Linked DNA regions of Homo sapiens: all the other regions are linked to region 2. Evidence: promoter capture Hi-C in human tissues and cell types (Jung and others, 2019). All regions are on one chromosome and are shown on one strand. The core of a region is centred on a gene start or on the middle of the fragment in contact, and the rest is flanking DNA. Distances in the headings are between cores, read along the strand shown.

Region 1 (2,700 bases), core at 152-2,651, 260 kb before region 2:
CTGACTATTCTCAGAGGAGATTACTTATCTAGGGCCCTGTGACCCCAGCTCTAGTGCCAGAGCTTGCAGCACAGGTCAGGTACATGGTAGACCCAGCTCTTCATCATGGCTTGCAGTCGCCCCCTCCGGGTGGTTACTAACATGTTGCCTATGCTGGGGATTGCGGTTTGTGTAGGTGGCCAGGGGTCGGAGCAGAAATTCGCAGTAATGAACAGAGAACATATTAGAACTACGTATATTAGAAAACCATGCAGCATGAACACCCCAAAATCAGAAGAGACACTGGACATAAACAACAGATCTGTCATAATGAAGTATACAGCTACAGGTGTCCCAGTAATGACAGCTCTCGACTCTTTCCCGGATGAGAATTTTAGATCTAGAAGAGATCTTGTCAGGGTCTAGTGCAGGGGCCCAGATTTAAATGCCTATGAGACCAGGGAGATGATATAAGTGCCAGCTTGGATGACATAAAACAATCATATAAGACAATATATAGGAGTTAGGACTCGTGTCATCAAAGAAAAGAGGGCACACCGGATCTAAAGATACCCAAGTTAGATTTGGTAAAACTGAAAGAGAGGGAAGACATTTCTCCAAAATCACATCTCTTTGTTAGTGAGAGAGAAGGTTTTTTTTGTTTTTTGTTATTTTTTGTTATTTTTATTTTATTTTATTTTGAGACGGAGTCTCATTCTGTCGCCCAGGCTGAAGTGCAGCGGTGCGATCTCGGCTCACTGCAACCTCTGCCTCCTGGGTTCAAGCGATTCTACTGCCTCAGCCTCCTGAGTAGCTGGGACTACAGGTACACACCACCATGCCTGACTAATTTTTTGTATTTTTAGTAGAGACAGGGTTTCACCATGTTAGCCAGGATGGTCTCGATCTCCTGACCTTGTGATCTGCCCGCCTTGGCCTCCCAAAGGAGAGAGAAGTTTTCATTGTTTCCTCCTGTGGACCACTCAGTGGAAGGAAAATGTTTGCAAGGTCCCTTCTAAATTTCCTTCCCTCTTCCTTCTTTTTCGCTTTGTCTGTGTCTCTTGCCTTTTATCTGCGCTTATCATAAAGCAGAGAGGTAAAGTGAGAACAGGAGCCATATGAAGGTGTAACTGACCAAGCGTGGGGAGGAGGGGCAGGCTAGGAAATGGGAACCAATACTCCCTCAGGACCCTACAATGGCACTCACATCTGCTTCCTCCTGAATGAGTGGTTGGGGAGGAGCTGGATTATCTCAGCTCCTCTTTTCTGTTACCTTTGCCTAGACTGTTAAATTACAGTGGCATGCAATAGATAAACATATTAAATCTCTCTGTAATATGCAGGTGAGTTCTCCAAATGTCTGCCTGTTCTGTTTTTTGTTTTGTTTTGTTTTTGTTTTTTTTTATGAAGGTGTTTCTTCCTTATAAATTGCCTTATGGTACAAAGTAACTCATCACCCTTGTCAAAGCTGGTTGAGCCAGAAACCGGGCCAAAGACAGGGACTTTCTATAAGACTGGCCAGCATTGCGAGGCAATCAGAGATGAAATTCCTGCCTAAAAGGAATCATATTGATTAGCTGGATCGACCAAATCTGTTCTTATTGATCAAGTTTTGAACCTGAGATACAGAAAATGTTGACTATTTGCAATGGAACTGAAAGTGAAAATACACAAGGAGGAAAACAGAGACAGGTTGAGTTACCATAAAGGCAAACACCAGCAGTTATTAAATGTTGCTCTTCCTCAAGGCTCCAGCATATTTTTTCTTCCCACCCTATACAATCTCATCCAGATTTACACCTTCCAGTATTATGAAAACATGGAGAACTTTACTAGGACTGAAGCTCAAAGGAGGCAGTCATTTTTGTCTGTTCTGTTCATTGACCTACGCCACATGTCTAGAACAGCACCTGAATAAATAATTGAGAATTACATTGAATGTCCACATTTATATCTCTAGGCAGCCATCCTTCTCCCCTGAACTCCAGACCTATACACAACTATTAGGCATCTCTGTTCAGACATCTTGAAAGATTCACCAACTCAACATGCCCAAGGCTGAGTTGATGAACGTTTCCCCCAAATACGGTTGTATGCTAGTGTTTCTTAACTCAGTTAATGACATTTCATTCATGCAACTGTAGAAACCTGAAACCAGGAATCATCTTTGAGACTCTCTCACTCATGTCTTTAAATCCAACCTATCACCAAGTCCCTCTTGATTTTATTTTCCAAACAGCTCTCTGGTTCACCACTGCCTCCCATCTTATAAGCTTTCAGTGGCTCAGGTTAAAGGTAAACATTAAAGGTAAATGTTCTGGCTGGTATGGTGGCTCATGCCTGTAATCCCAGCACTTTGGGAGGCCAAGGCAGGCGGATCACCTGAGGTCAGGAGTTCAAGACCAGCCTGGCCAACATGGTGAAACCCCGTCTCTTCTAAAAATATAAAAATTAGCCAGGAGTGGTGGCGCACGCCTGTAATCCCAGCTACTCGGGAGGCTGAGGCAGGAGAATCGCTTGAACCTTGGAGGTAGAGGTTGCAGTGAGCCAAGACTGTACCACTGCACTCCAGCCTGGGTGACAGAGTGAGACTGTCTCAAAACAAACAAACAAACAAAAAACAAATGGTAAATGACCTTACCGTGTTTCTCAAGGCACTGCATGGTTCATGCCCTGCTGACTTTTCCACACTTACTCTATACCACTCCACCCTGGTCTTCC
Region 2 (2,798 bases), core at 55-2,554:
CACACATATATATATATATATACATACATATATATTTCAAAATCGCCACCTGTTAATTTTTGATCCCCTATTAGAGGTGTTATCCACCAACTACTAACACGAAGGTCACTGGTCCTCAACCCACATTTCACCACCAGGGCAGTCGGGCCTAGCTGATGACCACACGAACACCAGATTAAGAGTAAAACCTTCTGAGGCCTGAAAGTGAGCGTGTATTCACACATCCTTAATAATACAGTGTCTGAAAAATTGTACCTGAAACTGAAAGATTTATTCTAAGGTATTTCAAGCACTAAGGGTCTGAGTTCAGCATTCTCACACCATCCTGAAAGAGGAACATTAAGTCAGCAAAATGACTGCGATCTGGGCCCCCAGAGGGATCCCAGCCAGGCCATCCTTGCTGGTGTCTTAAAGATTCAGTGACAAAATGGTGTTGCTTGGCAGGACACTGTTTTGCGTTCGGTGTAGCCACCCTAATGACGGCTGCTTAACAAGGCCAATGAATATCATAAGGGACATTTAGCAAGGAGCAATCCACAGGAGCATGGGGGTGGGGCAAGGCCGCGGAGCCCCCGCGGAGACCTGCTGGAGCCAGGCTGCCCACCCCCACCTCCCCACCCGCGCGTTGGCCCAGAGGTTTACCCAGGCAGCGGCCCTGGTGCCGAGGGGGCAGGTGCAGCGCTGTAGTGATGCCCAGTGGCCTCGTCCTCAGCCACCTGCCCCCCAACACCTGCTAGATGCCCAGGCGGGGCAGGCCCGAGGTGTCGCCGGCCCTGGGCTTCCCAAGCCAGCCCAGGGGCATCCCGCGGCAGGCGCCCCCGACACCCACGCGCAGGAATAGGGAGGGCGCATCGCGGCTCCCGCGCCCCGGCCAGGCCGGCAAGGACCCCACCGCCCCGCTCTCGGGTGGAGGCGCCCCTCCCCACCCCTCCCCCGCGCGGGGCCCCCGCCCGCAGCCCCTCTAGCAGCCCCTCTCGCAGCCCCAGCGCCCCTGAGCCGTCCTGGCCCGGACCGGCCAAGGAACTAACGAGCGCGCATCGCGGGCCTCGGGCGCAGGGCACGGAGCCGGCCGCGCCGCAGCCTCCCGGGCACCGGCGGCGGTGACCAACCTGTAACCCCAGCGCTCAGAGCTGTCATGGTGCCCGCGGGCGGCGGCGGCGGCGACAGTGGGCGACCGGCAGGATCAGTGCCAGGCGCGGCGCCCAGGGCGGGCGGGGACGCGGGCCCCTCACCTACGGCGGCTCAGCTCAGGCAGCGCGCTCGGCCCGGCTGGGGCCGCGGCTCACGCTCGCCGTGTCACTCACTGAGCGCCGCCGCCGCCGGGCAGGCTGGGGGAGGGGTGGGAGCCGGAGTTTTCGGGCCTTTAAAAAATTATTATTTTATTTAAATTTTTAAAGTTAGCTTTGCTACAGGGACTGCAGTGATGCCGAAGGGCGGGCACCGCAGAGGAGGCTGCGCCGCAGTTGGTGGGGAGCGCCAGGGTCGGTACTGGCAGTTCCTTCTTGCCGGCTGCCACCCGCAGTCAGTCTCACAGCAACAGCTAGGCTCTCATCTGCGAGCTCCTCTCGGGGGTCTTTCGTACTCAACAGCACGGCGGCGGTGTGCACGGGAGTCCGCCGGGCACACGCGGGGTACACTTAAGTGCACTGCCAGGAGGCCGGGAGCCCAGCGTGCGAGCGTGAGGTCAGACTGTGCACGGTACCGAGGACTAGTTCCATTCCTGAGTATGAAAGGGTGAAACCGTTCACCTCAAGTTTCACCCCGGAGTTATTAAATAATGAATGCATCAGTCACACTTATAGTTTTCTAAATAGGTTGACGTTCGCCTTTAAAATTAAAATATGTTGTCGTGTGGATGAGACAAAGTCTATTCAGAAATTGACAGTCCCCCACCCCATACCCTGTGAGTATACCTGGACAGCAGACTGCATCTGAGGCTTCCTAGGGCTCCCAGCAGAGCAGGTTTAGGGAAATCTGGCCTCCTAAGCACCATGCCCAGGGCGACATCCTCCCACTCATTCCCACTCTCTGAAAGGTTTACTTTGGGTCTGGAATCTTGCCATGTAGTCAGATACGAAAATCCCCAGGGAACTCCTGACCAGTGATTTAGACATCATGCACACAGGCATATAAATAAAGGGAAAGAAACAACTGAATGAAGCTTTCTCTACAAGAGAAATTCTAAACAAAGAGCATTTGTCTATCACAAAATGTTATGTGGCAAGGTATAGAAGTAAAACTACACAAACCTACATTTTAAAAATGTATTTTCTGGTTACAGATATTTAATTAATCTACTTTCTTAAAAAGTCCATTCACAATTTGTTCACATTCATAATCCATATTAGTACGTTTTATTGTTTACAGGGAAATGTTAAAATATTGGTATTTCATGAAATACAGAGTCATGCGAGATAATTTTTCAAATTTCTAAAGACTTCAGAAAAACTGTGTCAAAAGCCAGGTTTTAAACAAATGATGAAATCACTCCTCATAAGAAAAAATTGACAGTAATTTAAACAATGCTAAATCTACAACCAGTTTGCTTAGAAAAAGTATTTACCAACTTGTTTCATCATCTTTATTTGCGGCTTTCAATTGCTTGTTCTAAATACTAGTTTATTTCACAAACTGAAATATATAGCTATATATATATGGTAGCTGAATGATAGTGTGTTATTCCTTGACATTCGTTCGAATTATCTGTTAGTAAATTATATTAAGGAAATATTTAAACATTTATTTATAATGTTTTGAAGTGGTCAAGGCAGTGATTTTTTACTAATCTCAGTGCCACT
Region 3 (2,954 bases), core at 125-2,624, 180 kb before region 2:
TTTCTCAAGAGATTTACTTTCTAGCCACAAATTAACTGAGATCATTTTTATTCATTATTAATACATTAGAAAAAGAGAAGCATGGCCATGTATAGAGAGATACAAATGAAAATCACCTAATCATTAACATAAATTAAACAGAACCAATTACAGAATAATCCAAAATCAAAGACAAAACTGAAATTGCAAACTTCACTGTGATTTGACTATCTATCTACTATCTATCTATCTACTATCTATCTATCTATCATCTACCTATCTATCTATCTATCATCTGTCTATCTATAAAATGGTTACAGCCTTGCAGGCTAATATTAGATATTTTGTAAAAAAACAGACTAGTAGGAAAATCAGACATGATGACAAGAGTAGGAAACTAGAGATGATTAATAATTTGTAATAAATTGGTTTCTTTCTAGTCATTTTTTTCCATTTTATAGGTATTTTACATATGTATATAATAAATATATACATACATATATGTAGTTATGTATATAATATAATTTATGCTGTTTATCGTTTAAATAAAACAGTCATATTTCTAAGTTATAAAAAACTCATCACAATTATAATTTTATGGTTAAATTCGCGTTATGACTTATTAAGCTATTCCTCAAATGTTTGTCATTTAAACAGTTTTCTTTTTTCTCTCATTAATTCTATAATAAATATTTTGCACACAAATGTTATTTTCTAACTTTTTACTGAAAAATGGCATGTCAGAGACTATAGCAATTTTAAGGCCCTGAATATATTTTATACTGTACCTTTGCTGAAATAGGCAACACCAATTTTCTTAATTTGGCTACTTTAATAGCTTTGTAAAAAAGGTATGCTGTTGTTTTGATATAAAGGATATTCTCTATAATTATGTGCAATGATGCCCTAAGGTAGGTACTCAATGGCCATGATAACTTTGTGAATCTAGAGAGCAGTGCACAAGAGCTTATAATCACAGGAATGTTTGGAAAGCACATTTTGTATCAAGAGTTTTAAACATGTATATCTCTTGCCCCAGCCATGTCACTTATGATAGCTAAGCTTCAGGATATAACTCAACAAATGAGGAGAGATTTACATCCACGGATGCTGAGGGAAGTGAGCGCTTGAACTATGAAAACCCTCTGTGGTTTCAATATGCTTAGCTGTGATTACAAGGGCTCAGCTTTTTGCCTGGGTTTGTAGGGGGTTTTGCTTTTTACTTTTTGTGAATTATATTTGCATGTCCTTTCCCCCAGGTACTAAAAGTGTCTAGTTACCTGTGATCTGGCAGTTAAAGTGAATATTGTTCTGAAAATAATATTTTGGTATTACTAATAAATAAAATCAATAAAGTTGCAATGCATGTTCTTTTTCCTAAGGGGTTAGAGTCCTGTTTCTCAAAATTACTTCTTTAAAATTCTACTGTCATTTTATTTCCCAAATATTTAACAATATCTATTTAGAAAACAATCAATGCACATTCTAGTGTTTCCATGATAAATTATATAAATGCGAAGGACATGAACAGACACTTCTCAAAAGAAGACATTTATGCAGCCAAAAAACACATGGAAAAATGCTCACCATCACTGGCCATCAGAGAAACGCAAATGAAAACCACAATGAGATACCATCTCACACCAGTTAGAATGGCAATCATTAAAAAGTCAGGAAACAACAGGTGCTGGAGAGGATGTGGAGAAATAGGAACACTTTTACACTGTTGGTGGGACTGTAAACTAGTTCAACTCTTGTGGAAGTCAGTGTGGCGATTCCTCAGGGATCTAGAACTAGAAATACCATTTGACCCAGCCATCCCATTACTGGGTATATACCCAAAGGACTATAAATCATGCTGCTATAAAGACACATGCACACGTATGTTTATTGCGGCACTCTTCACAATAGGAAAGACTTGGAACCAACCCAAATGTCCAACAATGATAGACTGGATTAAGAAAATGTGGCGCATATACACCATGGAATACTATGCAGCCATAAAAAATGATGAGTTCATGTCCTTTGTAGGGGACGTGGATGAAATTGGAAATCATCATTCTCAGTAAACTATCGCAAGAACAAAAAACCAAACACCGCATATTCTCACTCATAGGTGGGAATTGAACAATGAGAACACATGGACACAGGAAGGGGAACATCACACTCTGGGGCCTGTTGTGGGGTGGGGGGAGGGGGCAGGGATAGCTTTAGGAGATATACCTAATGCTAGATGACGAGTTAGTGGGTGCAGCACACCAGCATGGCACATGTATACATATGTAACTAACCTGCACATTGTGCACATGTACCCTAAAACTTAAAGTATAATAATAATAAAATAAAATAAAATAAAAAATAAAATAATATAAAATAAAATAAAATAAAATAAAAAATAAATGACCAAGTTTGAATCAGGAAAATGACTACATTTGAGGTGTTTTTGACTAGAATACCATGTAGACATATTTTATCATTTTGACTAAGTATTTACCAGGACAGTGAGCGTGTTGCTATATTCAATAATAACAAAGAATGTAACTAATAATTACTGTTTATTGCATAATTAGAAAGCAATGTGATCCAATATATCACATTTAAAAAAAGATATCCAATTATTACAAGTTAAATAAGAATTATAAGTGCCATCATGAAGTAACAGGCATTTATAAATAATACTGTATGAGTAATTACAATCTGTAAAGGTAAGTTTTATAAACCTTTAATATTTTCATTATAAACCGTTGTTGAGCAAACACTTAGCCTTATCGACAAGGAAGAGAAACACTTGGGATTAAATTAATGTTTCCTAGTCTTTAAAGTTTGTGCCAACATCTTATGTAGTTTAAAATTTGATACGCATGTATGGATATATGTTATCCATATATAAAAATATGTGTATCTATATACTGCTAATTTAGGAAAAGTAAGTAAAACATCTACATTGTTTCTGTGAATTTTCAGGAGTTTTAAAA

The links. The method cuts DNA at HindIII sites, captures the fragments that hold promoters and counts their contacts. A contact is called where the count stands out against the background at its distance.
Region 1: a fragment that was not itself captured here is called in contact with the fragment with the promoter of NALCN in region 2 in 2 of the 25 tissues and cell types used here (mesenchymal stem cells and small bowel).
Region 3: a fragment that was not itself captured here is called in contact with the fragment with the promoter of NALCN in region 2 in 2 of the 25 tissues and cell types used here (H1 embryonic stem cells and dorsolateral prefrontal cortex).

The regions. Positions count from the first base shown.
Region 1 is chr13:101,159,293-101,161,992 of GRCh38, forward strand. All of the region lies in intron 15 of NALCN (sodium leak channel, non-selective), which reads right to left. Among named protein-coding and RNA genes, the nearest start is that of LINC00411, 220 kb to the left of the region's middle. The HindIII fragment of the contact is 6,967 bases long and covers 1-2,700 here.
Region 2 is chr13:101,415,204-101,418,001 of GRCh38, forward strand. It overlaps NALCN (sodium leak channel, non-selective), which reads right to left and starts at 1,305. Exons shown (of 44, transcript NM_052867.4): 1 at 1,110-1,305. RefSeq lists enhancers at 106-656, 657-1,207. The HindIII fragment of the contact is 15,657 bases long and covers 1-2,798 here.
Region 3 is chr13:101,234,604-101,237,557 of GRCh38, forward strand. All of the region lies in intron 12 of NALCN (sodium leak channel, non-selective), which reads right to left. Among named protein-coding and RNA genes, the nearest start is that of NALCN, 180 kb to the right of the region's middle. The HindIII fragment of the contact is 6,808 bases long and covers 1-2,954 here.